Regions from separate parts of the Homo sapiens genome. Here region 1 is linked to region 2. The links are contacts of gene promoters, found by promoter capture Hi-C in blood cells and fetal thymus (Javierre and others, 2016). All regions are on one chromosome and are shown on one strand. The core of a region is centred on a gene start or on the middle of the fragment in contact, and the rest is flanking DNA. Distances in the headings are between cores, read along the strand shown.

The links. Contacts are between HindIII fragments. The CHiCAGO score rates a contact against its expected background, and 5 or more counts as called.
Region 1: a contact is called between a fragment that was not itself captured here and the fragment with the promoter of PCDH17 in region 2, in 1 of 17 cell types (endothelial precursors). The highest score is 7.4, in endothelial precursors.

The regions. Positions count from the first base shown.
Region 1 is chr13:59,665,459-59,672,114 of GRCh38, forward strand. DIAPH3 (diaphanous related formin 3) reads right to left here. Exons shown (of 28, transcript NM_001042517.2): 28 at 125-1,388. The coding sequence ends at 1,126. Among named protein-coding and RNA genes, the nearest start is that of DIAPH3-AS1, 340 kb to the right of the region's middle. The HindIII fragment of the contact is 9,199 bases long and covers 1-6,498 here.
Region 2 is chr13:57,629,927-57,636,755 of GRCh38, forward strand. PCDH17 (protocadherin 17) reads left to right here and starts at 1,818. Exons shown (of 4, transcript NM_001040429.3): 1 at 1,818-5,185. The coding sequence starts at 2,621. RefSeq lists enhancers at 1-366, 2,325-3,004. The HindIII fragment of the contact is 2,681 bases long and covers 1-2,011 here.

The sequences.
Region 1 (6,656 bases), core at 649-3,148, 2.0 Mb after region 2:
AAGAACAGTCACTTACTTATTACATGTAATAAAGCAAAATAGATGCTTAGACAGACTGCATAGCACAGTCTATTCTCAGCTTATCCACAGAATGTTTTCAAAAAAAGAGAGACAAAAGAAAGCATTTTTTTTCATTTAGTGCAAGTAGCAAGTTTATTTCCTTTGATATAGAATTAACAGAGTAATGATGCCCAAATGAGGTAATATTACATTTGCTTAGGAAAACTTTCCTTGAAACACTTATTTAGATCTTTGTTAAAGTTATTGATTGTCAGATCAGAGAAATTGCAATCCCAAGTTTATTCATAAAATAAAAAAAGTTGTTACTTTGGAAATTTCAAAATGGCAATTTTATCTCAGAGTCATAATTACAAGGGGAAAAATACTCTCTTAGCCAAGATCAAGAATTTCGGCAGCACTGCAATTCTGTTTACATCCACGTTACACAAAAGCACATGCATTTGGCAAAGAGAGTGCATACATTCTTATTGCATCATTTTTCGTTATGTGCTCAATTGCCTTATGGTCCCCTAGAGGGTCTACTTAACATGAATTCAACAATGATGATAATGGGGTCACCAGTCATTTCCTTACATATATAGCTCTGATGTATTCAATTACATGTTTTTGATGTTGTGCTGGTAGTATATAGATCCCAATTAAGGAGAAACTTGGGCCTATATAAACAATATATATGGAATATACATGGATATGTAAAGACTTGAGGTTGATGACCTGACATCCATTAATGTTAAAAATAGTAAAGTAAAAATTCCAGTGGCTTAGAAAGATGGTATTTTCTTAAGGACACACTGCTGAACACATGGCCACCTACCTGCTCTCTAAAGCAATATGTATAATTTAACCACCAAATAAAGAACTGAGGAATACCAGGAGACAAAAAAAAAAAAAAAAGGATTAAAGCCCGGTACAATCTTGAATAAACCAAAACCTCCAGTACATAGAAAAAGCATTGCAATCATATATTTAGCTTTATTTTTCTAATATATATCATAATTTAAAACTATATAAAGTCACTTACATAAAAGCAATTTTTTCAAGTGTTATAGTTTAGAGCATGGCTTTATATTTGGCTTAATCATTTTTTTTAAAAACCAGTTTAACTTATAAAGCTCGTAATCTTGCCAGCAGGGCTTCAACTTCGGGAACTGATTCATTTTTAGAAAAAGAGCCAAGAAGTTCCGTTTCCTTTTTTCTGTTGCTTTCTACATTACACGCTTCCTTCTTCTCAGCTGCCTTGATCCTCCCAGTAGACGTATGAGTGTCTAGATTATAATTAAGCTCCTTGGCGACTGGAGTCCTTGTTGAGTTGCAATTGATATTGTAGTGTGAACGTGACCCTTCTGTCAACTGCACTTTCTGATTTTCTACAGTAAGGAAAAAAGAAACATAAAACTTATCACCATGATAACCAAGGACTGTGCACGTTATGAAACACATTTAAAATAATTATTCTCAATAAATAAGTAGTCTTCTTAGATAGACTAAACAAAGAAACAGTCAACAGAGTAAGACAGGTTTAAAATAATCACACAGGGGTTTAAGAATAAACTAAAATATAACAGCCAACCGTTTCATTAGCACTAATGCCCATTTCCTTCTTCCTTTATGCCTGACATGCCTGTCACGTGGTTATTATCAGGGCCTGGTCCCATATTTCTTTCAGGTCTCTGTTCAAACACCACCTAAAAAGAGAGGCCTTCCCTAGCCACCCATCTAAAATAGCATTTGCCCTTTGCACTGCTCTATCCTTCCCCGTCATGTTTTCCTTCACAGGGCACATGATGGCTGGACACACAATATATTTGCTCACTTGTCCATTGTCTGTCTTACTAGAATGTGTGCTCCAAGACAGTAGGGACATTATTTTAAATACTGCTGTAACTTCAGGGCCTAAAATGGCCCTGGTGCAAAGTAGGTCCTCAATAAATATTTGTTGGATAAATAAATAATTTCCACACTCTGTGACACAAGATTAAACATTAGCTTGAATAATAATGAGATTAATTTCCTTTTTGAATGAAATCAAGAAGGAAAGTTTCTAATAAGAATTTAAAAAGTCGATTATTTTCCTTTAAAGAAACAATGAACTTGGCAAGCAAATAATTAAAACTTCCTAGCAAACCAGAATGTTATATGTAATTGTCAAGTATATACACATCTATACATACATGCATGTACATATATACATACACACATACATTCTTTTATTGGTAAGTGATGGTAATGATGACTTTTAAAAAACAGACACCCTCAATATTCATGTAACCTTGAATGGGGCTTGAAAATGGCTTCAACAAACCTGACATGACATTTAAAGTTTTTTGGTTATTCTCTGAGAGATGTTCCATTGTCCCAATAGTAATGACTTTGGAGCACAAGCAGTCACTCATGACAGTGTGTTTTATGTGAGTGCTGAAAATTCCAACTGAAAACAGCTTGTACATTAAAAGGTGGCTGCTGAAGATATTTACTGCACTGTCATTTTCTGACCAGAGGCTTCCAGTGATGGATGAGGATTTTACACACTTTCTTGGACAATCTCAACAAATTTTAGAAGTATGATCACCTTTTAGCTGCTGGAAGAAAATAAATACACTTTGTCTTTCACCTTCTATATCAGGTGGGCAACTGTTACTCAAAAATCAAAATCTAATAGAGCAGTGATTTTCTCTTAAAGGAGTGTATGCTCTGTAGCTTATAATGTACATATTGTGTTTGCCGGAAAGAGCACGGTAGATGTGGTATTCCTGCAGTTCCTATGACCACATCCTTTTCTTTTCTAGCTCCCACACCTCTGTCCCAAAGAATGCTTGAAAACTGCATTTGCAGCTAAATGTAGAATGTTGGCCAGCTTACTGCTCCTTCCCCAAAATGTTCCTATCTTTGCTTATTTGATTTCCTGCAAACCACTACATCATGATGGTATCTCCAACAAACCAGTTTATTCTGCTATTGGACAACTCTAGTTAAAAGTCTAATGGCAAAGAAGAGATTAAATTAGCCAAAATATGGGTATAGAATATGAAATGTGTGTGTGCGTGTGTGCGCGTGTCCATGTATGCACTCCAAGAAAGTAGGGACATTGTTTTAAATATTGCTATAGCTTTAGTGCCTAGACCGTCCTTGGTGCAAAGTAGGTGCTCAATAAATATGTGTTGGGTAAAGAAATTATTTCCATACTCTGTGACACAAGATAAACTTTAGTTTGAATACTAATGACATTAATTTCTTTCTTGAACGAAACCAAGAAGGAAAGTTTCTAATCAGAATTTTTAGTCAGTGGTTTTCCTTCAGAGAAATAATGAACTTGGTAGGCAAATTATTAAAACTATATATATACACATATATATATATGTATGTATACACACACACACACACACACACAAAACACATACATACATACCATCTTATGAATAGCCTGTATTTTGTTGCACTTCAAACATTACCACCCTCAGCATATAGATTGAGGGGTAAAAGCAAAAGGAGGTTAAGTCATTTGCTTAGACTTAGTTACTGAGTAAATCGGTGGTAGACGCCAAATGCTGTCTCTAGAGATACTGAGGCTGTCTTCAAGAAATCTGAAAACCCTTTTGCCAAAGGAAAGTGCTAAGTAATTCAAAGCTAAGTTTCATAATAATGGTGTCCTGCACTTATACTTCAAAATGCCTTCTAACACACTGAATTCTCGCAACAGCTTTGTAAAGCAGATAGTACACCTATGTAAACTACCTTAACACAGTATATCCAAGGTCACACATATCCTCCATTTCTTTCCTGGTCTCACTTAGATTCATGACTATGAACTTCAAAAGCATGACCTTTAACCCACTACAATTCCCTAGTCCATTCACTCTTCCATTCTCCCAGACAACTGCTCCACACCTTCTCCACTCTTTGAAACTTCCAATATGTCCTCCCTCTCATTTAACTCACTCATAGAGGTGATCAGAAGAGAGCTCCTGCACGTGCCTCACCCCTTCCCCAACACCTATTATCTGCCTACTGCACACACATACATCCGCCCCTCCTGTTAGGATGAATCAACCTTCCGAGCTCCCCTCTGAGGACAGCCCTCAAGGTGAGTGACGGATGTGACTTTTGCTTGGATGTGACTTTTGCTTGTCTATTCAAGGACATCCCTCTGGCTGCTTTGCCCTCTCTCTGCTGCATTGTAAAGGTTTCTTTCTCCAGGTGCTCATTCCCCTCAGCAGAGAGGCTCTAATAATCATAAATTTATGAGGTGGGGGGAATCTCTGTTTGTCTCCACATCCTGCTCCAGCTATCTAAATTCTTGGCTCCCTTTATAGTAAAATACCTTGAAAGAATTGCCCATACTTACTCTCTTAATTCCTCGCTCCCTATTTTTCTCTTGAACCCACTCCAATCATGCTTTTGACCCTTTACTCTTCTGAAACAGTTCTTGTCAAGGTCGCTAATGAACATGCATGCTGCCAAAAACAAGGATTGCATATCTATTTTGAATGTCTTAGTACTCCTTGATCTATACCAGATCCAAGGATGAAATGCCTAGCATTTCCTGGGTTTTTCTTTTAGCGTTTGGTCTTTGAACTTCTTTGGAGACAAAGGTAAATAATAATGGATGGGCCAAGGCAGGCAAAAGCATTTCTATCCTTTTGAGAAAACTCAAAATAGCTGTGGGCTTGCTTTAGGGACAAAATGATAAGAGAAAAACTAAGATGGTATTTATCTCCTCTGTGGTTTCAGGTGAGGAATCTTTCATGAGAAGTAACAGACAAGACAGTGTAAAAAGGAAAGAGGCCATTCCTGAGACCACTGAAGAAATAAAAAAGAAAAGTGCACAAGAGTTTTTTAAAAGATGTTTATAGCTTTCTTAGAAATTCCTAGATAACAACTCTTCATTCCCAGCCCTCACATTAGCTCTCAGCACCCCAACAGCCCCCATTCTGGTCCTCACCTTCTTTTTGGTTTGTCTCCAGACATGGGAGACCAAAACTGTAGAAATGAGCAAGTCAGATCTTAAACTGCAAAGCAGATAAATGAAGCTGGACAGGAGGAGTTGCCTATCCCACTATAATTAGAGATAGTGCAGGTAGAGGAAGTGCTCAAGCTGGAAGTTCACTTTTTTTTTTTTTTTTTTTGAGACAGTCTTGCTCTGTCGCCCAGGCTGGAGTGCAGTGGCGGGATCTCGGCTCACTGCAAGCTCCACCTCCCGGGTTCACGCCATTGTCTTCCCTCAGCCTCCCGAGTAGCTGGGACTACAGGCGCCCGCCACCACGCCCGGCTAATTTTTTTGCATTTTTAGTAAAGACGGGGTTTCACTGTGTTAGCCAGGATGGTCTCGATCTCCTGACCTCGTGATCCGCCCGCCTTGGCCTCCCAAAAGTGCTGGGATTTCAGGTGTGAGCTACTGCACCCGGCCGGAAGTTCACTTTTTTAAAGCCTGGCAACAAAGCCAGGCTGGGGATAAGCTATCTACCCGCCTCAGCGTCACAAAGTGCTGGGATTACAGGTGTGAGCCACTGTGCCTGCTGACCCCAGAAGTTCACTCTTATATAGAAATCTTATTATAATGTGTCAAGGCCAGGTGTCTTTTGTTATCACCATTATTTTAAAGTTTGTTATTGGTGGCTTTGTGTGGGCTGGAGACCTAAATTCCATGCAAAAACATGCACTTAGTTTCTAAATGGTTGACTTTCAAACAACAGAGTGATCCCACAACCTTGTAAGTTGGAGAAAACTCTATACTCTACCAGGTGCTCAGAGGCATAAATAAATTGTAATTTGAGGCAGGTAGGCCAATTCTTTTCATATGAAGTTAGACAGTTACAAATGCAAGATGATACCTAGGACATATGGACTCAATGAAAGGTAAGGCTGGGGTATCAATAAAAAGACAAGCGTTTCTATTTCTCAACTCAACTCTTCACCATACACACTTTTAAATGGAAACTAAAAATATTAAGGCAAAGAGGGATGATTAATTCTTCAAGGTGAGGAGTTTGTTTTATTATTTTACAAATTGAATCCTAGGCCTTTTTTTTCTGTTTAAGATATTACAATTGATCTCTATGTGCAATATATCTAGGACTACTGCCAATATTCAGGGCCACTGTTGATTGTAGTACTGATAGGCAAAGAACCAGCTGCTATTCTTAGTACCAATTCAGTAAGAAAATGCAATCCACACATCTTGTATTTGTGTTTCTGTGGAAATAAACACGATGAGAATACATGCTATTTTCCTTTAAGATAGGAATACTTACTCATTTCAATTTAATTCTTCATAGGATTCTTACTATAAGAATTGAATCTAGAGACCCACCACAGCTTTTTCTTTGAAACTGAACTAAAAGTTGAACGTTGTTGGAGAGCTGAATGCCTCTTAAATACTGATACCCACTGGACTTAAAAATGAGAATAAAGGCCTTAAACTACATCTAGTGTTGGGTCCCACATGATCTTTGGCAGAGTATAGATTTGGATGACAAAGAAAGCTTAAAAAAACTCATTCATCCTGTGCTAATATTTCCACTGTTTCTTGAGAAACACAAAAGACACAGGAAACTGGGAAAGTTGCTGACAAAAGAATTATGTATATATATGTGAATATATGCAACTTGGCATCTAAATGAGGAAATATTTCAGCCAAC
Region 2 (6,829 bases), core at 568-3,067:
CCCATCTAACTGATCTAATCAATGACTCCGAAGAGCCGGGGCTCCTGGCCCCGCCCCCGCCATCCTCTTCTCCGCCTCCCATTGGACGCGGGCCGAGAAGGCAGGGCCTTGCTCCTCGCTCGGATTGGCTGACAGGGAATCAGTATCAATGTTTAAGCGGCGGCGTGAGGTGAATAGAGTCAGTCAGCAAGAGACGCTGGGGAGAGAGCAGGGATCGCGAGCCCGGCGGATGCGGCAGCGGCGGAAGGCGGCTGGGGAGACGCTACTCCAACTGTTGAATTGAATTTTCACCTTTCCTTTCATCCGCTGCTTTGCTTGCGGAGATGGATTTATTTGCTTTGAAATCCGCATATCTTTCTCAGACTGTGGGGTGATCCCGGCAGACACCAGACTGAAAGAGACCACCCGTGACAGAAAAGGAGGAATTAAAAAAAAAAAAAACCTCCACAACAGACTGCACAATTAACTGTACACATCGATGTTGGACTTTGTGAATAGAAAAAATTGAGAGGAAAATCTTGAACTATGATGCGAGGCTAAGCTGGGAACAATTACTGGAAACCTGATTTTGTTTTTCCTTTTCCAAGACTCTGAAAAATTTCGGGGTACCTCTCGCCTAACCAAGAGGAAAGGTTTAAAAAAAATAAACAAAATAAATAAACCAATACACCTAGCAAAGCAGACGCCTTGTTTTCCAGAACCTCGGACTCCGGCAGAAAGAGGTAGAGTAAAAGTGCTGCTAGATTCAGCTTCACCTTCTTCCCTCCATCCTTTTCTCTTGCATTTTCTTTTTCCCCAAAAACATGAATCTGGTTTTTCTTTCTATAGACTGAGTCAGAGAAAGCGTTAGGAAGAAGCCGCAACTAATGTCTGTGAAGGGAGGACCATGAGGCGAGAGTGAATACGATTCGTTCCGCTGCTTCTGACTCATCCGGCAGATCGGAACACCTGCATTTCTGGATGTGTCATTCCCGTATGTCGAGGCGCCTCCAGAACCCGAAATAATGTGTAGACAGACCTGTGTCTAACATCCCCTCGGAGGGAGCTCCCCGGGGTAGGAGCCCCTGGCTGGACCGCCGCGGCCGCAGCTCTGCACCCCCTGCCCTCCCTGAGTCGCCCAGAAAAACTGAAAGAGAGACTGCAGAATGCATCACGCCAAACCTTGATGTGTTGCTTTCATCCAGCCCACTCCTCCTACTATAAGAGAAAATTGAAGGAAAAAAAAAAACACGTACTTTATTTGCTTCAAATATTCATCACTTTTATTCCTCGCCAAGGTTTTCTTTTCTAGATGAAGAGGACTGGGAGGCAGGGCTATTGGAAGGAGATGCTGAATAGAAAGAAAAGAGGCACTTGACAGCCCAGCCCTGTGAATGCAGAGACTGTTTCCCTTCTAGCGAGAGACAGGGAGAGTGTGTGTGCAAGGACTGGGAGGGAGGCTCCCCCTTCCTTTTTATTCGGCCTCCCCCCTCCTCCTTTAAATGTGCACGTCCAACCATGAGTTGCCTGTTGATTTCCCTTCGCCTGGGAAGAAAAGCAAACTGGAATTAAACTGCTTGGAGAGAAGTCCTTGCTCGCGGGGAGAGGATGGGATGGTAGCGGAGGCTACTGGCTTGGCGTAGAGAAATCAGAGAGTGTGTTCTACGAACAGAGGCGAAGATTTATCTCTCTACTTCCCCCCTCCCAATAGACTCACACAGCAAATGCTGATCAGGCTGTGGCTTTCTTGATTTCGGGGGAGAGCCTTTTCCGAGGAAGAGAGGGAGGAGCCTGGTGGGGAGAGGAAACTACAAATCGGGACACTAGTTCTTTACGCTGCATTTCCTCCCCTCCCTTTGGCTGCTCGGAAAGGAGAGAGAGGAAAAAAAAAATACGCTTGGCTGGTAGATGCAGTCCGCCGCCGCCGCTGCCTCAGCCAGCAATGCAAGATTAGATCTCTAAATGCAGCAAAACACTGCCTGAAAACAGACCGGCCCGCGCAGCAAGCAGACATTTCACGGTGCGCTGGGGAAGCTTCAAAATATATCTGTGACTCTGTCTTCGTTGCTCTTCATCCCCATCAATTTCATCACGGGAGGCGAGCAGCAAGTAAGAATTTCACTTTCGGATCTGCCTAGAGACACACCTCCCTGCTCCCTCCCCCACTCGATGTGAAGAGTATTCCGGAGTCTCCGGGCGGGAGTAGATTTGCAGCACCCTAGCGGGAGCGAGGAAAACCTACTGATTCTTTAGCTCATTATCATCTCTCCCAGACGAGATTTCCTTCTTATCGCCTGCCTCATCGCTCAAGTTTGAGCCTCCCGAAGTCCGGGCGGGAGAGACGAAACCCCTGGCTCACCCCCAGCCGCAGGAAGCCACCGCCTTGCTCCAAGCCCCTGCAGCTCTGCTGCACCGCAGCTTCTCACCCAGTGCGGATGCTGTAGATCAACAGGTTCAGGGAACTTGAGCAGAATAAGGAGAGACCACCGGGTGCCGCAGCTCGGGTGCAGAGGGAAAAAAGGACCCATAGACTTGTGGCTCGCGTCGCGCGCGCACGCTGCGCCAGGGCCCCAGGCTGGCGCGCACTCCCTCTCTGGCTCCTCCAGTCCGATTGCTCCTGCCCCCACCTTACAGGTCTGGGATGTACCTTTCCATCTGTTGCTGCTTTCTTCTATGGGCCCCTGCCCTCACTCTCAAGAACCTCAACTACTCCGTGCCGGAGGAGCAAGGGGCCGGCACGGTGATCGGGAACATCGGCAGGGATGCTCGACTGCAGCCTGGGCTTCCGCCTGCAGAGCGCGGCGGCGGAGGGCGCAGCAAGTCGGGTAGCTACCGGGTGCTGGAGAACTCCGCACCGCACCTGCTGGACGTGGACGCAGACAGCGGGCTCCTCTACACCAAGCAGCGCATCGACCGCGAGTCCCTGTGCCGCCACAATGCCAAGTGCCAGCTGTCCCTCGAGGTGTTCGCCAACGACAAGGAGATCTGCATGATCAAGGTAGAGATCCAGGACATCAACGACAACGCGCCCTCCTTCTCCTCGGACCAGATCGAAATGGACATCTCGGAGAACGCTGCTCCGGGCACCCGCTTCCCCCTCACCAGCGCACATGACCCCGACGCCGGCGAGAATGGGCTCCGCACCTACCTGCTCACGCGCGACGATCACGGCCTCTTTGGACTGGACGTTAAGTCCCGCGGCGACGGCACCAAGTTCCCAGAACTGGTCATCCAGAAGGCTCTGGACCGCGAGCAACAGAATCACCATACGCTCGTGCTGACTGCCCTGGACGGTGGCGAGCCTCCACGTTCCGCCACCGTACAGATCAACGTGAAGGTGATTGACTCCAACGACAACAGCCCGGTCTTCGAGGCGCCATCCTACTTGGTGGAACTGCCCGAGAACGCTCCGCTGGGTACAGTGGTCATCGATCTGAACGCCACCGACGCCGATGAAGGTCCCAATGGTGAAGTGCTCTACTCTTTCAGCAGCTACGTGCCTGACCGCGTGCGGGAGCTCTTCTCCATCGACCCCAAGACCGGCCTAATCCGTGTGAAGGGCAATCTGGACTATGAGGAAAACGGGATGCTGGAGATTGACGTGCAGGCCCGAGACCTGGGGCCTAACCCTATCCCAGCCCACTGCAAAGTCACGGTCAAGCTCATCGACCGCAACGACAATGCGCCGTCCATCGGTTTCGTCTCCGTGCGCCAGGGGGCGCTGAGCGAGGCCGCCCCTCCCGGCACCGTCATCGCCCTGGTGCGGGTCACTGACCGGGACTCTGGCAAGAACGGACAGCTGCAGTGTCGGGTCCTAGGCGGAGGAGGGACGGGCGGCGGCGGGGGCCTGGGCGGGCCCGGGGGTTCCGTCCCCTTCAAGCTTGAGGAGAACTACGACAACTTCTACACGGTGGTGACTGACCGCCCGCTGGACCGCGAGACACAAGACGAGTACAACGTGACCATCGTGGCGCGGGACGGGGGCTCTCCTCCCCTCAACTCCACCAAGTCGTTCGCGATCAAGATTCTAGACGAGAACGACAACCCGCCTCGGTTCACCAAAGGGCTCTACGTGCTTCAGGTGCACGAGAACAACATCCCGGGAGAGTACCTGGGCTCTGTGCTCGCCCAGGATCCCGACCTGGGCCAGAACGGCACCGTATCCTACTCTATCCTGCCCTCGCACATCGGCGACGTGTCTATCTACACCTATGTGTCTGTGAATCCCACGAACGGGGCCATCTACGCCCTGCGCTCCTTTAACTTCGAGCAGACCAAGGCTTTTGAGTTCAAGGTGCTTGCTAAGGACTCGGGGGCGCCCGCGCACTTGGAGAGCAACGCCACGGTGAGGGTGACAGTGCTAGACGTGAATGACAACGCGCCAGTGATCGTGCTCCCCACGCTGCAGAACGACACCGCGGAGCTGCAGGTGCCGCGCAACGCTGGCCTGGGCTATCTGGTGAGCACTGTGCGCGCCCTAGACAGCGACTTCGGCGAGAGCGGGCGTCTCACCTACGAGATCGTGGACGGCAACGACGACCACCTGTTTGAGATCGACCCGTCCAGCGGCGAGATCCGCACGCTGCACCCTTTCTGGGAGGACGTGACGCCCGTGGTGGAGCTGGTGGTGAAGGTGACCGACCACGGCAAGCCTACCCTGTCCGCAGTGGCCAAGCTCATCATCCGCTCGGTGAGCGGATCCCTTCCCGAGGGGGTACCACGGGTGAATGGCGAGCAGCACCACTGGGACATGTCGCTGCCGCTCATCGTGACTCTGAGCACTATCTCCATCATCCTCCTAGCGGCCATGATCACCATCGCCGTCAAGTGCAAGCGCGAGAACAAGGAGATCCGCACTTACAACTGCCGCATCGCCGAGTACAGCCACCCGCAGCTGGGTGGGGGCAAGGGCAAGAAGAAGAAGATCAACAAAAATGATATCATGCTGGTGCAGAGCGAAGTGGAGGAGAGGAACGCCATGAACGTCATGAACGTGGTGAGCAGCCCCTCCCTGGCCACCTCCCCCATGTACTTCGACTACCAGACCCGCCTGCCCCTCAGCTCGCCCCGGTCGGAGGTGATGTATCTCAAACCGGCCTCCAACAACCTGACTGTCCCTCAGGGGCACGCGGGCTGCCACACCAGCTTCACCGGACAAGGGACTAATGCAAGCGAGACCCCTGCCACTCGGATGTCCATAATTCAGGTAGGAGACTTTTAGCATAACTGGGAGTTCACTTTATTGCTGGTTTTGGAGCTGTCCTGAAACCTTTGGAACAGGGCAAGCCACTCTGCCAGCAGCAGTGAGGGGGAAAAATAATTAAATGAAAACGGTTTACACTTTTGACACTGTGTATACATCATATTCTACATATAACCCCTCCCATGTAAATAGTCTAAACTCTACCAAACGTAAATATCTTACTGTTTCATTTTAAAATTTATTTTTATAGGTTTAAAAATGTTAGCAGTGTTCAATAATAATAGCTTATTTTACTTACTTTTATTTGTTGGTTTACATTTCTTTTCATAAAAAGGAATTCCCAGAGCAGAAAAAAATGTTTTAGTTAATTGTCTTGAAAATATTTTTATTCTGTTTTTTTAAATGATGCCAAAAATGAAAGGAACTTATACCCAACTATTAAGAAGTTAACTTCTTTAAGTACAGAATAACAACCAGTCAGAATTTCAGAGTTCATTCAATTTGAACTAACTTTTCATCCTTAAAAAGTCAGCTTTATATTTTAAAGGTGCTTTAAAGAACATGAATCTCACTTATTCTTCATCATTACATTATGGTAAAACTGCAGCATAATGCATTAATACAGCTTAAGCTTTTCAAATGTGAGTTATACTCTGAAGCACTTTGAAAAGTTTGAATACATGCAGGCTCTGCATAATGACTAGTAACTATCTATGAAAAGTTTGTATTTGTTTTGTCCTGTGGTTACCGTGATCTGTTTCTTGGAGTCACTGAGGAATGAAAGGAATACAGCAGAGGACCAGAGGCTCATTTTGCGCTACTGAAAAAAGGAGGCAAAGTTACACTGAAGGCACTTGATGTGCCAAAATGAATTCATGATGCATTTAGTTTGCATAGTGTGTATATTAAGTATATCTAAGTGATATTTAATATATATAAGATAGTATGCTTCAAAGTTATTGATAATACCACAAAACTAAATGACTGACCCAGCTTGGACATAGATTCTAACAGCAGCAGGTGACTATACCATGTCTAGTCATTGTCTTGTTTCTTTTACCTACTATTGAGTTGTGTCACAGAAAAACTTCATTCTTGCTTATTATAATTGTATGTTGCAACAAATTACTCTGGATGAGCAGTATGTGGAATTCAAAATTGAGCTTAACTGAAAGTGACACCGCAAGAGGAAGATTAGTTTGGGGCAAGTGGAAATAATTTGTTCATAATGTTATGCTTTGAAAAGCAAATAACTTTTGATGACACTGGACTCAATAATGTTTTTATTGTTAAAATGGAGCAGTAATATTTCATAATCTTATTCTTTCTAACATAATAAGTATACCAAATACTAATACTTAGCAAAATATATTTTCCTATAATAGTATAATGTCCTTGTAAAACAATCTCACACTTGACACTACTAAATATTAAAATATCAATTGTAGTATTAAATCTCACTTCTAATAGTGTTTACTATACATCAGTAATCATAATTTTTTAAGGTCTATATAAAACTGAAAAAGAAATTCTCCACTTTAAAAAAATGTGGTTTCTATGAAAGTATTTCTGTGACTGTGTAAAACTGGTATTTATGATAATCAATACGTATTTAGAAGGAAATATTAAAACACATATTTAAAGATT